Regions from separate parts of the Homo sapiens genome. Here regions 2 and 3 are each linked to region 1. Evidence: promoter capture Hi-C in human tissues and cell types (Jung and others, 2019). All regions are on one chromosome and are shown on one strand. Each heading gives the region's core, a stretch centred on a gene start or on the middle of the fragment in contact. The rest is flanking DNA. Distances are from core to core; before and after follow the strand shown.

The links. The method cuts DNA at HindIII sites, captures the fragments that hold promoters and counts their contacts. A contact is called where the count stands out against the background at its distance.
Region 2: a contact is called between a fragment that was not itself captured here and the fragment with the promoter of THEM6 in region 1, in 2 of the 25 tissues and cell types used here (H1 embryonic stem cells and dorsolateral prefrontal cortex).
Region 3: a contact is called between a fragment that was not itself captured here and the fragment with the promoter of THEM6 in region 1, in 1 of the 25 tissues and cell types used here (dorsolateral prefrontal cortex).

Annotation. Positions count from the first base shown.
Region 1 is chr8:142,723,373-142,728,472 of GRCh38, forward strand. It overlaps THEM6 (thioesterase superfamily member 6), which reads left to right and starts at 3,851. Exons shown (of 2, transcript NM_016647.3): 1 at 3,851-4,487. The coding sequence starts at 3,975. LNCOC1 (lncRNA associated with ovarian cancer 1) reads right to left here and starts at 3,601. Exons shown (of 3, transcript NR_038925.1): 1 at 3,350-3,601. RefSeq lists an enhancer at 3,357-3,576 and silencers at 3,607-4,046, 4,347-4,596. The HindIII fragment of the contact is 14,450 bases long and covers 1-5,100 here.
Region 2 is chr8:142,899,063-142,904,162 of GRCh38, forward strand. No RefSeq gene overlaps it. Among named protein-coding and RNA genes, the nearest start is that of CYP11B2, 16 kb to the right of the region's middle. The HindIII fragment of the contact is 4,499 bases long and covers 611-5,100 here.
Region 3 is chr8:142,549,486-142,554,585 of GRCh38, forward strand. No RefSeq gene overlaps it. Among named protein-coding and RNA genes, the nearest start is that of ARC, 62 kb to the right of the region's middle. The HindIII fragment of the contact is 3,567 bases long and covers 778-4,344 here.

The sequences.
Region 1 (5,100 bases), core at 2,601-5,100:
TGCCCAACCCACTCCTCCTGTTGCTAGCCGCTTCCTAGCCACTTTCTTCTAGACGAAGATTTAAATCAGGTGGTAAAATACATCATTAACTTGGGACAAGTTCAGCAGGCCATCTTGCAATATGATAATAAGATGTGACCTCAGCCGGGTCATGGAGTTTCAGATCATTTCCCTGCTAGCCCAGGTGCACAGGTCCTACTCAAGACATGGCGAAAAGGAAGCCCAGAGGCTTAGTTCACTGAGAAATGAAAGGGTCCATACCAGGTTTCCTTGGCTACTCCATCAGCTGTACAGTTGGAAGGACTTGTCTCTAGAATAAAACCTTTTGCTTCTCCTGATGGACGACAGGCCTGCTTGGAGAAAACAGTCTACTCCCGTAAACCTATAGAGGACCTCAAGTATTTGTTCAAGAAGCTGCCTCTGGAAGACAGCAATAGTTAAGTAACATCCTTATATAAATGATATATACCAGGGGATATGCAGACTATCTTCAGGACCCTGGCTTGATACCCCCAACTGCACAATTCATAACCTGAACCTCTCCATTCTCAATGACACCAGGGGATATGCAGACTATCTTCAGGACCCTGGCTTGCTACCCACCAACTGCACAATTCATAACCTAAATCTCTCCATTCTCAATGACACCAGGGGACATTCGAATTTGGGCTCCTCTTGGAATTGTTTTCCCTCGAGGCCACGCTAATGACCTCCTCAACCACCCTGCTTGCCTAGCTCTTTCCCCCTGCATGGCTCTGTGGGCTTGGACACCCCAAGCCCAGGCCAAGGAAGGGCCAGGTCTGGCACCCAGAAGTCCCCCACTTGACCTTGACTCCTTCAAGTCCCCCAATAAACTGCCAGTGAACCACCACAAGCTGCCCAAATCCATTGCGTTAGACTGATGCAACTGAGTGATGGGGAAGGTGTGGGTCCCTCCAGCTTTCGTGGGTGCTAAGACTGCTGGGTGTCTGGCACTGCTCTGGCCCTGGGACACAGCAGTTAGGAGGCCAACCAGGCCCTGGCCTTCTGGCTTCAGAGTCCAAGAGGGACAGAAGTATTCCTTGCTTATGTATTCCCTGTGTAAGATTGCAGCAAGGCTATGCACCCTGGGAGAGGTTCGCTGTGCAAGGAGAGCCCTGGGGATCTTGCCCAGTCTCTGGGCCCAGGAAGCGGAAGATGGAAGAGGAGGGAACAGCATGTGGGTGGGAGGGGAGCTGGGAGAGCAGAAGTTGGGAATGAATGGGCAGGGGCAGGAGCAGAGGAGGTCTGGAGGGTGGGTAGAGACCTTGGAAGCTCCAACTGGTTTCTCATTCATCCATCTTCACCGGTATCTCCAGGGCTAAGCCTCCAGCTCTGGGTCCCTCCCCTGGCAGGAGAGGACACAGTGGTGTAAACCAAAAATGAAATTCTAAGCACCCCCACCATCTGAATGCACCCCTGCTCTTGACCAAGGGCAGTCCAGGGTTAACCTGAAACACTAGTTCAGACCACGACAGGAAATGGGTGTTGGATATGCCTCACTGTACCCTCCTCCCTTTGGATTTCAGGCCCAGCTGACCAGCAGTAACATCAACACACCCCTTAAAGACTGAGAGAACAGACTCTTTAAGTCTGATGAGAAACATTTACAATCTATTCTCTCTGAAGCCTGCTACCTGGAGGCTTCATCTGATCATGAAACACTGGTCTCCACGACCCCTTATCTTAACCAGACATTCCTTTCTATTAATGCTAAGTCTTTAAAAAATAACTTTTTTTTTTTTTTTTTTTTTGGAGAAGTGAGGTCTCTCTATGTTGCCCAAGCTGGTATCTAACTCCTGGGCTCAAATGGTCCTCAGCCTCCCCATGGCAAGGATTATAGAAATGGCCCACCATGCCCGGTCAACTTAACTCTTTCAATCAATTGCCAATCAGAAAATCTTTGAATCTGCCTATGACCTAGAAGTCCCTCTGTCACTTCCAGTTGTCCCCACCTTTCTGGACCAAACCAATGTCCATCCTGCAAGTATTCATTGATGTCTTATGTCTCCCTAAAATTTGTAAAACCCAGTTGCAGGCTGACCACTCTGGGTACAAGTTCTCAGGATCTTCTGAGGCCGTGTGACAGGCCACAGTCACTTAGATTTGGCTCAGAATAAATCTCTTCAAACATTGCACAGTGTTTCACTCTTTTTGTTGGCAAGGGGACAACATGGGTGACCAGGAGGCTGCATTCTTTGAGCAATGGCCAACAGGCTCAACGGCTATGTCCTCAGTCCCTTCAGCCCAAAAGGCCACCCCTCCCTGGGGCAGAGGGCTCAGAGCCCAGCTACGACAAGGTGACACTTCAGGGACAAGTGTGAGCAATGCTAGGGTGTTGGGAATAGGCCCCCAAAATCTGGCCATAAACAAAATCTCTGCAGCACTGTAACATGTTCATGATGGCCATGATGCCCACGCTGGGAGGTTGTGGGTTTACCGGAATAAGGGCAAGGAACACCTGGCCCACCCAGGGCAGAAAACCGCTTAAAGGCGTTCTTAAACCACAAACAATAGCATGAGCCATCTGTGACTTAAGGACATGCCCCTGCTGCAGATAACTAGCCAAACCCACCCCTTTATTTTGGCCCATCCCTTTGTTTCCCTAAGGGGTACTTTTAATCTATAATCTGTAGAAACTGTGCTTATCACTGGCTTGCTGTGAATAAACACGTGGGTAAATCTCTGTTGGAGGCTCTCAGCTCTGAAGGCTGTGAGACGCCTGATTTCCCACTCCACACCTCTATATTTCTGTGTGTATCTTTAATTCCTCTAGCACCGCTGGGTTAGGGTCTCCAGGACCGAGCTGGTCTCGGCACTGGGGGAGCTGCCCTGATAGGTAGTGAGCTCCCTGTCCCTGGGGCTATCAAGCAGAGCCAGGTGCCGCCCCAGGGAGCTCCTTCTTTGAGGGCGGTCCAGAACCCTGGAACCCCAGCCCAGGCCCAGGCCTGAATCCGGAGCTTGTTTAACCCAGCAATTCCGGGACCCCATCCCCGGTCGCTGGCATCCGCTGTCATTCGAGAGCCTGGGGCTGACGGGGAGAGCTGGTCCGGCCTTCTCTGGGCCGCCTTTCCTCCCCAGCCTCGTCAGGAAGGGGCACAGGACAGCCGAGCTGTGCGACAGCCCGCTGGGCCTGCGCCCCAGGGCCTCCGGCGACACTTGGAGTCCGCAGCTGAGTCACTGACTCTCACCCGGGCTCCCCCGCTTCCGCCCGGCCGTGATTTGCTCCGGTTTCAAAAGGGAGGAAGGGCGGGAATGCTCGGGAAGAGCCTGGGGTTGGCAGGACCTTTAGGGGGTGGAATGAATGTCGTGAGGGCGAGTAAGGAGGTACCGGCTGGGGCTGAAAATGCGCACGGGGACCATGAGCGTGATTCGCCCTGAGCCGCTGCGAACGCCCTGCGAGCTGGGGTGGCCCTGGAGGTCCTGGAGCAGAAGCTAGGTTCCCGCAGAGTCCGCTGCAGCGCCGCTGGCGATCGGGCTGGGTCCCATTTTCCACGAAAAGTCCCGCGGCTTCGGCCGCGGAGGTGCTGGAGCCTTTGCGCTCAGACGAAGGGCCGAACGGCCAGGGCCAGGCCGCGTCTTCAGAGCCTGGCGAGGGTCTCGCGCTGCTGGGAAGGCGGAGACGCCGGGGCGCGCGTGCACCCTCGCGCCTGCAGCGCCGCGCACGGCCGCCAGGTGCCGCTGTGGCGCTCAGCGCGCCGCCCGCCCCGCCCCAGGGAACGCGAAAGTGGCGCGGGCCTGGACGGCGGGACGGACCACGTAGGGCGCTGAGAAGGTCGCGCCACGGTGGGCGGGGCTCCGGGCCCCTCCCCCTCGGCCGCCCTCGCGCTGTGGTTCGCTCCGGGCGCGCTGCGCTCGTGAGTTCCCAGGAGGCCTGGCGGGCACCGTAACCAGCGCCGCGGACACCGGCACCGGCGCCACGGACTCCGCAGGACCCCGCGCCCGCCGCCGCCGCTATGCTGGGGCTGCTGGTGGCGTTGCTGGCCCTGGGGCTCGCTGTCTTTGCGCTGCTGGACGTCTGGTACCTGGTGCGCCTTCCGTGCGCCGTGCTGCGCGCGCGCCTGCTGCAGCCGCGCGTCCGTGACCTGCTAGCTGAGCAGCGCTTCCCGGGCCGCGTGCTGCCCTCGGACTTGGACCTGCTGCTGCACATGAACAACGCGCGCTACCTGCGCGAGGCCGACTTTGCGCGCGTCGCGCACCTGACCCGCTGCGGGGTGCTCGGGGCGCTGAGGGAGTTGCGGGCGCACACGGTGCTGGCGGCCTCGTGCGCGCGCCACCGCCGCTCGCTGCGCCTGCTGGAGCCCTTCGAGGTGCGCACCCGCCTGCTGGGCTGGGACGACCGCGCGTTCTACCTGGAGGCGCGCTTTGTCAGCCTGCGGGACGGCTTCGTGTGCGCGCTGCTGCGCTTCCGGCAGCACCTGCTGGGCACCTCACCCGAGCGCGTCGTGCAGCACCTGTGCCAGCGCAGGGTGAGCGGCCCCCGCCCCTGGCCCCGGAGCACGGCCTTTGTGGGACCTCCGGGGGCTCCTCCTAGTCCCTGGCCCCCTCCCCTAGGGAAGGCCCGCTGCCTGCACCTCTTTCGGATACTGCTGGAGTCCTGCCTCTTACCGCTCCCGCCCCTCCCTCTCTACCGGGGGCATTCCTCACTGATGCCTTTGTTCGTGGGGGTTCCTAGGGTCCCCGAATCAACTCTTCATAGTCGGGCTTAGCGTGCTTCCCTCCTGCCATTTCTTAACCTGGCCCCTCACGGTTTCGTGTTCACCCCTCTCCTCTCTCCTGGTACTCTGTTCTGTGGCTGGAGTGTTGACCTCTCTGGTCCTTGGTCCTGAATATAGGTTGGAGAGGTGATCAGTTAGAAGAGGTTCCTAGGAGTTCCCGAGGACCTGAGCCCCCCTTTCACACAGCTTAGAGCTGAAGGGCTGGGTTCTGGTCACCTGGGTTTGGGGTTGAGGTATTGAGCCGAGTAGCTGAAAGCCTTCTGGCCTTTCTGCAGTTGGAGAGAGGAGGGCCATGCACCTCCCAGGGCTCGCTCCTCCCAGCAGGGCAGAACCGCCCCTGCAGCATGGCACCTGGGGCCCTGGG
Region 2 (5,100 bases), core at 1,610-4,109, 170 kb after region 1:
TAGGTTGAAAGTGAAAGGTAGAAAAATGGTATTTCATGGGAATAGTAACCAGGGAGCTTGGATGGCTATGCTAATATAAGACAAAATAGTCTTTATGTAAAAAAGTTACAAAAGACAAAGAAGGTCATTATATATTGATAAAAGAGTTGTGGCCGGGCACGGTGGCTCACGCCTGTAATCCCAGCACTTTGGGAGGCCGAGGCGGGTGAATCACGAGGTCAGGAGATCGAGACCATCCTGGCTAACACAGTGAAACCCCGTCTCTACTAAAAATACAAAAAAATTAGCCGGGCGTGGTGGCGGGCACCTGTAGTCCCAGCTACTTGGGAGGCTGAGGCAGGAGAATGGCGTGAACCCGGGAGGCAGAGCTTGCAGTGAGCCGAGATCACGCCACTGCACTCCAGCCTGGGTGACAGAGCGAGACTCCGTCTCAAAAAAAAAAAAAAAAAAAAAAAAGAGTTCTGATGGTTAATTTTATATGTCATTAACTAAGCTATGGTATAGTTTTTGGTCAAACACTAGTCTGGATTTTGGTGGAAAGGCATTTTTAGGTTTTACCATCATTTAAAGAAGTAGGTTTTGAGTAAAGCAGATTATCCTCCAAGTATCCTCCTGCAGGATCCATCCTGTGGTTATCGCCACAATTCAAGCAGAATTGGAATATTCATAGTCAACAACTGGCAGAATCCCCACACTCGTTCCCTCTTCTATGCAGTGAGAGATATTATAGTGGAAAAGACCAAGTAGAAGCCATTAGAACTGTGTCTACCAAGAAAAATAGCCAAAAGCGTAACATTCCTAGACGGATGGCAGAGATTAGAGCTACCAGTCAGAACCTGAAAAATGCACAGGTGAAGATTCCTGCCACATCCCCATTCGACTTTCCTGTTTTGCCTGTGCAGAAGACAGATGAATCTTGGAGAAAAGCAGATTTTTGTAAGATTAACCAAGCCACCACTCCAATTGCAGCTACCGTACCAGAGGTGGTTTCATTGCTTGAGCAAATGAACGCATGCCCTGGTACATGGTATGTAGCTACTGAGCTGACAAATGCACTTTTCTCCATTCCTACCAGTAACGAACACCAGAAGCAGTTTGCTTTTAGCTGGCAAGGTTAGCAGTATACCTTCACTGTCCTCCTCAGGGATATATTAACTCTCCAGACTGATTATAATTTAATTTGTAGGCATCTTGTCATAATTTACTTTGTAGGGATCACCTTTCCTTTCTGAAAGATACCACACTGATGGATTACATTTATAACATAATGCTAATTAGACCCAGAGAGCAAGACGTACCAATTGCTCTAGACTTATTATTAAGACATTTGTGTGAAAACACCCCAGGGCCTGTAGTGGGGTGAGGGGAGGGGGAGGGATAGCATTAGGAGATATACCTAATGTAAATGATGAGTTAATGGGTGCAGCAAACCAACATGGCACATGTATACATATGTAACAAACCTGCACATTGTGCACATGTACCCTAGAACTTAAAGCATAATAATTAAAAAAAAAAGACATTTGTGTGAAAGGGTGCTGCTGTGATTTGAATGTGTCCCCTCCAAAATCCAGTTGTTGCCGGTTTGATAGTATTAAGATATGGGGCCTTTGAGAGATGGTTAGGCAGTGAGGGCTCCACCCTCGTGAATGGGATTAGGTGCCCTTGTAAAGGGGCTTGACAGAGGGGATTTTATCCCCCTTATGCCCTCCGACTTCTACCATGTGAGGACACATTGTTCCTCCCCTCCAGACGATGCAATGTTCAAGGTGCCGCTTGGAAACAGAGACCCAGCCTCCACCAGACGCTGACCCTGCTGATGTCCTGATCTTGGACTCTCAGCCACCAGAACTGTGGGAAAATAAATTTCTGTTCTTTATAAGTTACCCAGTCTCTAGTGTTTTTGTTAAAGTACACAAAATCAACTAAGACAGATGGGAAATAAACCCAACAGAAATTCAGGGCCCTTCTACCTCCATGAAATTTCTAGGAATCCGGTGGTGTGGGGCATGCCTAAATATCTCTTCTAAGGTGAATTACAAGCTGTAACATCTGGCCCCTCCTGCAATCAAAAAGGAGGTACATTGCCTAGTAGACTCTTAGGACTTTCATGGTAACATATTTCTCATCTGAGTATGATCCAGCCCACTTTCTTTTGACCTAAAGTGCTGCTACTTATGAGTGGAACCCAGGACAGTGGAAGGCTCAGCAACAGGTCCCGGCCACCATGCAAGCTGCTTTGCTAATTGTGCCACATTTTCTAGCAGATCCAACAATAACTGAAGTGTCAGTGGCAGATAGGCAAGCTTTCTGGAGCCTTGGTCGGGCCCTGTAGGTTAATCACAGCACAAATCCCTGGAATTGCAGCACAAAGCTCTATCAACCTGTGCTGATAACTACTCTCCTTGGAGAAAGAGCTTTTGGCTTGCTCCTGGGTCTTCGTAGAGAATAAACACTTTACCACGGGCCACTAAGTTACCACGTGACTGCCTTTGATTCGTGGGGTGTTACATAAGCCACTAAGCCTTAACATACCCAGCAGCACTCTATCAATGAATGGAAGGAGTATGTTCATTTGGCCTCGAGGAGGCCCAGAAAGCACAAATAGGTTACATGAAGAAGTGGCCCTAATGTCCAGGTTGTCCACAATCCTGCTACACCATCTTCTCTCCCCAGCCTGCACCTATGGCCTTACGTGGTTACCTGTATTTCGTTGGCAGAGAAAAAGAAAACTAAAGTCAGGTTTAGAGATGGTTCTGCAAGAGATGTCGTTATCGTCCCAAAACAGACAGTCACAGCAATGCAGTTACTTTCCGAGACGTCCCTGAAGGACAATGGCAGAGGAAAATCCTCCCGGTGGGCAGAACTTTGATCACTAAGCCTGGTTGTTCATTACACTTGGAGGGAGAAATGGCCATGCATGCAATCATATACAGATTTATGGGCTTTTGCCAATGATTTCGCTGGGGGGTAAGGATCTAGGAAGCAACACAACTGTAAAATTGGTGACTAGAGATTTTGAGGAAGAGGTATGTGGATAGATCTCTCTGAATGGGCAAAACATGTGAGGATATTTGTGTCCCATGTGAATGCTTACCAAAGCGTGATCTCAGTAGAGGGGGATTTTAATAATCAAGTAGATAGGATGACCTATTTGTGAACACAAACCAGTCACTATCCCCGGCCATGCCTGTCATTGCCCAATGTGCTCATGAATTAAGCAGATGTGGGAACAGGGAAGGGGGTTATGCATGCTCAGCAATGTGGTTTTGCACTAATGGTGCCAAGCTGGCTACAACTCCTGCTGAGTGCACAATCTGCCAGCAGCATACACCAACAGATAGCTCACAGAATGATACGGCTCCCTGGGGAGATCAGCCAGCAACCTTGTGGCAGGTCTATTACATCCAGCCTTTTTCATCATGGATGGGAAGCATTTTGTTCCTATTGGGATACATACACACTTTCTTTGGATATGCATTTTTTCTGCATTCAATGCTGCGTCAAAACGATATATTTTTATTTCATCTCTTATAACTTTAAATAAAATAAGATGCATTGACTATATCATAGTATTTATTGTACAGAATATCAAGAAGAATAAACACCACCAAGGGTTTTTGCAGCTTCTTCTGGGGAGAGGATTAGGACAGTTGTATCATGTTAGGTGAAGTATGACCTTGCTTTTATTTTTATTTGAAAGTTAAGTATGATTTAAGGAGCTGTGTGTGGGAGCCAAGATGAGAAGGAATGGAGTGTGATGGTTGGTTTTAGGTTTCCATCTGGCTAGGCTATGGTACCCAGTTTCAGTCAATGCATGAGTCTGCTATGGCTGCTGTAACGAAGTGCCATGGATTGAGTGGCTTAAATGACAAACGTTTATCTCTCACAGTTCTGGATGCTGAGCAGTCCAAGATCGTGGTGCCAGAAGGCTTTGTTTCTCCCGGGCCTCTCTACTTAGACCGTAGATGGCTGTCTTACCTCTGTGTGCTCACGTGGCCTTTTCTCCATGTATGAGCACTCCCGGTATCTCTTCCTCTTCTAATAAAGACACTAGCCCTATTGGATTGAGGCCCCACACATGTGACCTCACTTAATCCTAATTACCTTCTTAAAGGCTCTACCTCCAAAGATAGTCACACTTGGGGCTAGAGCTTCAACATATAAATGAGGAAGGGCACAATTCACTTCATAAAAGTCAAAAACCAGTCAAGATGTTGCTGAAAAGAAATTTTTTAGATATGAATAAGATTTAAATCAGTAGACTTTGAGTAAAGTAAATTATACTCCAGAATGAGGATATGCCTCATCCAAACTAGTAAGTCCTTTAGAGGATGGCTGGAGGTCTCCTGAGGAAGAAGGAATACTGCCTCCAGATGGCCTTTGAATCAAGATCTCAACGTTAGCTTTTCTCTGCATCTTCATACTACTAGCCTGCCCTGCATATCCTGGACTTACCAGCAGAAACACTCACATGAACTAATTCTGTAAAATAAATCCCTCTCTCATCTTGATTCAGTATTTCTGGAGAACTCTGGCTTATTCTAGGGAAGACTCATCAAAAGATATAACAACTGTAGACATATACGTATCAAACCACAGAGTCCCAAAATATATTCAGAAAACGTTGGGGAGGGAGTTCCAGACGGCCAACTAGAAGCAGCTATTGTGTGCCACTCCCTGGAGAGGAAACAAGGTAGCCAGTAAACACTAGCTCTTCAAGCTCATCATCTGAGAGACGCTTCCTGATTGGGCCTCAAGCAGGGAACCCACAGAGAACAGAGAGGACTGAAGCTTGCCCCATGCTAATGCTTACCAAAGTGTGACCTCGATGGAGGACGATTTTAATAATCCAGTAGATAGGACAATCTGTTCGTGAACACCAGCCAGTCACTATCCCCAGCCAACCCTGTCCTCACCCAGTGTGCTCATGAATTCAGCAGACATGAGAACAGGGAAGGAGGTTACCGGTATGGAGCCAGGAGAAGCTCCCTAACTTGGGGAAAGGCTGAGTGAATGAGAGTCCACAAGGGATCCATACTTCCCTCATGGACCTTTGCAATCCTGGGCATGGGAGAACCTCTCTGATGCCCCAACCCC
Region 3 (5,100 bases), core at 1,311-3,810, 180 kb before region 1:
GTGCCCTGAGGTGACAGAGCAGCTGGTATCTCACCCAGGCACTGCCCGCACCCCTCCAGCTGCTCACCGCCTGGGAGGTGAGCAGGATCAGGAGGGACCAGGCAGCCTCTTCTGACCGGCGCCGTCTCCCCAGCCCTGCTAGAGCCCCACAAGCTTCTTGGCTCTGAGGCATTGTCCTGGGGAGGGCCGAGCACCTCCCTGGAGGCCCAGACCTGGGAGTGCATAAGTGGGAGGGGCCAGTGGGCTTCCACCACAGCCCTGCTCTGCAGCCTGCTCCCTGTGGCCCCGGGGGGCTCTCAGACCCCTGCAGTGATAGTACAGTCCCCTCTGAAGACCCCAAGCAGCACACCTCTGCCCACCCGGTATCCTGTGTCTCTGGCCGGCTCAGCTCAGAGCAGCCCCTGAAGGGACCGGCAGACAGGTGAGACTCCTCCCAGGGTGCCCGGCCACCCAGGCCCACTCCTGGCCCTGCCTCAGACCCTCCCCGTCTGGGCCTCAGTTTCCCCACAGGTGCCAGCTGAGAGCCCTTCCAGGGCCAGCAGTCTGTGACTTGGCGCTTCTCAAGGTGTCGGAAGCAGCGGGCTCTGGAGTATCTTGTCAGGTCCTAAAAATAATCGGGAGGGAGGAACATCTCCGAATAGCTGGTGAACGTGCGAGCCGCCCACCCCACGCACAGCGGAAACTCCTCCAAATAAGGCCTTGGCAGAACCGGAAGCCTGAACCATCACCACGCACGTCAGCTGTGTTCCAGAACCTTCCCTCCCAGGGCCACAGGGTCTCCCCCAGAGGGCCGGCGGCCGGATCAGAGGCCTGGGCAGCCTGGCTCATTCTAGACACCCGGAGCCCACTGAGAGATGGCAGCCCTTCCCATTAGAGTCCTGAAATTTATAATTACGGAATCAAAGCATTTCCTAGCCTAGAAACTTGTATTTAAACGTACGGAATCTTAGAATAATCAAATTCAGACCCTTCCCCCAAGTCGCAGAGGACATTGGCTCCAAAGGGCAGTGCCCCTGCCTGGCTCCCGGGAGAAGCAGGACCCCACCTGGGGCTGGGGGGCAGCATGGTAGCCTCCAGACCAGCCTCTGGAGAAATGGGGGATGGCTCCCAGCTGTCCTAGGAAGGCAGAGGAGGTGTCGCTGGGCTCAGTATGGCTCTCTGGGAACACCATATGGACCCTGCCCAGGAAGGGGAGGTGGGGGGAGGAAGGAGGCAACACCCCCATCAGCAACCTCCTCGGCCTCTCCCAGGGGTTCCGGGTTGGGCGTGGCCCCTCCTGCCTTGCAGTGTGCACAGGGGTGGGGTGCTCCTTCTCTTCCCACCCCCCACCTCTCCTCCGTGTCCTTCCTGATCTTTCCCTGACCCTGCTAAGCTGAGGGACCCCCTGCCCCTAGAGGGGAAGCTTCTCATGGACTTTGCCCAGTTCCTCCACCGGGCCACGCTTAACCTCCCAGAAGGACAAGGGTGTGCCTTGGGAACCAGGGCAGGGAAGAGGAGGGAGGGGACAGGTCTGGAGGGGCTGCTTTATTGGAGGAGAGGGATGGGCACAGTCTGGTGACAGGACCTTGAGGGTAGGCAGGGAGGGTGCAGGGCAAGGACTGGACCTCCCACTCTTGATGGCTTCCCGGAAGAGGGGACCTGGCTGAGCCTGGAGGTGGTGGAGGCGGGTGGTAGTCGGCACCCATGTAGGGCCAGCCTTGAAGGATGCTGATGTCACCAGTGGCCGCTGAGCCAAGGCTGGTGGCTTGGGCGGCATGGGCCAGGGCTTGTACCCCTTGGAGGTTTAGGAAGTTCAGGCTCTCAGCCAGAGCCCGCCCCCTGCTGGCTTGGAGAGAAGGGCTCAGCGCTCAGGCCCCACCCCGGGGCTGCTGTGGGGGATTTCTTTCTGGGCCAACCCCAGGTCACTAACAGGTCACTAAGATGTGATGTGGCCAGGGTCACACAGCTGGGGCCTGGACCACTGCTTGGCCAACCCTAGAAGAGTCCCAGTCCGCGCCCCCACCCAACTGTTGCCATCCTCCAGGCAGTCTGTGCCTGTAGCTGCCAGAAGCACTCCTGGCCCCAAACCTCAGTGGTGCCTCCCTCTTCACTGTCCTGGCCTCGCCTCACCCCTGCCTCTGAGTCTCTCCAAAGCCACGTGCCTTATAGCAGGCTTTGGCGGGGGGCAGGCAGTTTCCTGCAGTACAGGGGTTCCCCCGAACCTGGTATGCACACCAGGTATGCTCAGAGGAGGCTCTTATCAGCATCTGACAGCTGAGAAGTCTGAGAGGGGCCCTGGGGAAAGAGGCCACAGAGTGTTCTGGGAAGGGGCCACCTGCCCCTGCCTCCAGGTGCGTACCTGCAATGCACCAGGAACAGGCAGCCATTGGAGGAGAGGTGGGCAGATTAAGCCGAGCAGGCCTGGCAAGGAGAGGTGAGGTGGAGGCCAGGCCATGGGTCCAGGCTGAGGAACAGCAGTCATGTGCAGAGGGCAGTGGCTGTTCACATCTCACGGGTCCTGTTGGTCTCCGTGGCCCACGGGTCTCTATGCAACACCTCCCAGGTGTGTGCCAGGCTTGCAGAGATGATGCTGGTGGCTCAAGGACTCCTAGTAGAAGCTCCCAGAGAAGGGACCTCAGTGTAGACCTCAGTGCAGACCAGAGAAAGCACAGAATGACGTGTGCCCTTACCCATGGCACTGATGACGGGGATGAGGGACAGTGATGCAGGCCTTTGTAACCACCACCCAGCACAGAAGAGGAAACTGAGGCACAGAGAGAGTAGGTGACTTGCCCAGTCACAGAGCTAAACCAGTGGTGGGATTCGAGCCCAGGCATCCAGGCTGTCGTGGTGGTGTACTTAGGCGTCATCATCATTCGAGATTTACTTCACCAGGTTTAAGGATTATGACCCATGACACAGCCTCAGGAGGGCCTGAGGACCTGCGCCCAAAGTCGTTGGGGTACAGCTTGATTTTATACATTTTAGGGAGACTTAAGACATCAATCAATACACATGACGTATATATTTGTTCTAGAAAGGTGGGACATCCTGAAACAGAAGCTTCCAGGTCATAGGTGGATTTAAAGATTTTCTGATTCACAATTGGTTGGAAGAGTTATTATCTAAAGACCTGGAATCAATAGAAAGGGTGTTTAAGTTAAGATAAGAGTTTGTGGAGACCAAAGTTAGCATGTAGTTGAAGTCTCATAGGTGGCCACCCTTAGAGGCAGTAGATGGCAAATGTTTGCTATTCAACCTTTAAAAGATGTTAGGCTAGACTCTCAGCTAATCTCTTCAAGGTCAGAAAAAGACCTGGAAAGGGAGGAGGATTCTCTACAGAATGTAAATTTCCGCCACAAGAGACAGCCTTGCAGGGGCATTTCAAAATATGTCAAAGAAATATACTTTGGGGTAAAATCCTTTGATTTCTTTCAGAGCCTACTGTTATGCTATGCTATGCTGGAGTCAGGTTCGAATTTGCTGTTATTTCTACAAAGAGTCTGTTCGGTCTGTCTTAAGATTTCTGTTTAATGTTAATGCTGATCAGTTTTGTGCCTGAATTCCCAAGAGAGGAGAGTGTAATGAGGCATGTCTGATCCCTCCTTCTCATCACAACCTGAACTTGTTATTTTTAGGTTTCTTTGGAATCCCCTTGGCCAAGAAGGGGGTCCATTTGGTCAGTTGGAGGACTTAGAATTTTATTTTTGGTCTACACTGGGCACCTGTGCATGACGTATTTGTAATGATGGAGTATTATCACGGAAAAAATAGAGCAATTTCCATTTCCAAAAACAAAACAAGAAGGAAGACCCCATGTTGATGTATTAATTATCTGGGCCTGGACTATTCTAAGTGCTGGTCAAATAAATTTTAAGGGTAGGCCAGGCCCTGACACAGATCTCAGGTGGGAGGCACCTACAGCATCTTCAAAGCTGCACTGGCTCTATATGCCCCACCTCTCTCATTCTCCCAGAGCTCACAGTGGAGAAGTTGTGCTCTCTGCTTCTGCTGGGTCCGGCACCTCCAGCCCCAGCCTGCCTCCCTCCCAATCAGCTCCTCATAAGGTCTTTTACACCAGGCCTTTCCCTCCCTCCACACTCTCCAGCCTTTCTCCTTAAGAGTCCTTCTTGTCAGCAACTAACTACGGAGCTATTCAGGCTTTTTATTTCTTCTTGACTCACTTCTAGTGCATTGTGCTTTTCTGAAATCCAACTATTTCAACTAAGTTTTCAAATGTATTGGAATCACATTGCTCCTAACATTCTTTTATTTCTGATGTGTCTGCAGTCAGGTCCCCTTTGTCACCCCTAACACTGAATTGTGGCTTCTCTCTTTATGTTATTCAACTTGCTTATTTAATCATTCACTTCAAAGAACAAACTTTTGCCTTTGTGGTTCCCCTGTGTTATGCCCCCCGCTTCACTCATTCCTGCTCCTATCTTTATAACCTCCTTCCTTCTTCTTTGTGTTTATGAGGAATGAAAAAACTTTTTATGCTGAAAGCTGAACACATTCATTTTTAGCCTTCGTTATTGTCTAATATAAGCATTTTAGGCTACAAATTTCCCTCAAAGGGTTACTTTAGCTCCACCCTGAAAGTTTCTGTGTGTATTATTTTCATTACCATTCAGTTGTATTGGTTTTTAAATTTCCATTATGATTGTTTTATGGATATATGTTGTTTTATATGTGTTTTTAAAGTTCCAAACCATGAGATTTAAGAAATCTTTTTGTGATTTCTAATTATGTTGTCATAAAATGTAATCTATATGTGAATTGCTTTGTTGCATAGTATGTGACTAATTTTTATAAATATTTCACACCTCTTTTACAATTGCTGAGTGCGTAGTTATTTATATGTTAGTTAAACCAAGCTGGTCAATTCTATTGCTCAAATCCTCTGTACCCTTGCTGATGCAGGGCAGGTGAGCCCCTAAAAGTGGGGCTTAGCCTGGAGGGTTCTTGGCTTTGTTCAACAAAAAATTTGAAGGCGAGCCAGTGGTGTTCGAAGCACCTTTGATTGAAGTGGTGTGGGCAGCCGCAGCAGAGGGACTGCTCCTTGCAGAGCAGGGCTACCCCATAGGCAGTGAGCCCAGGGAAGCAGCTCAGAGGCACTTC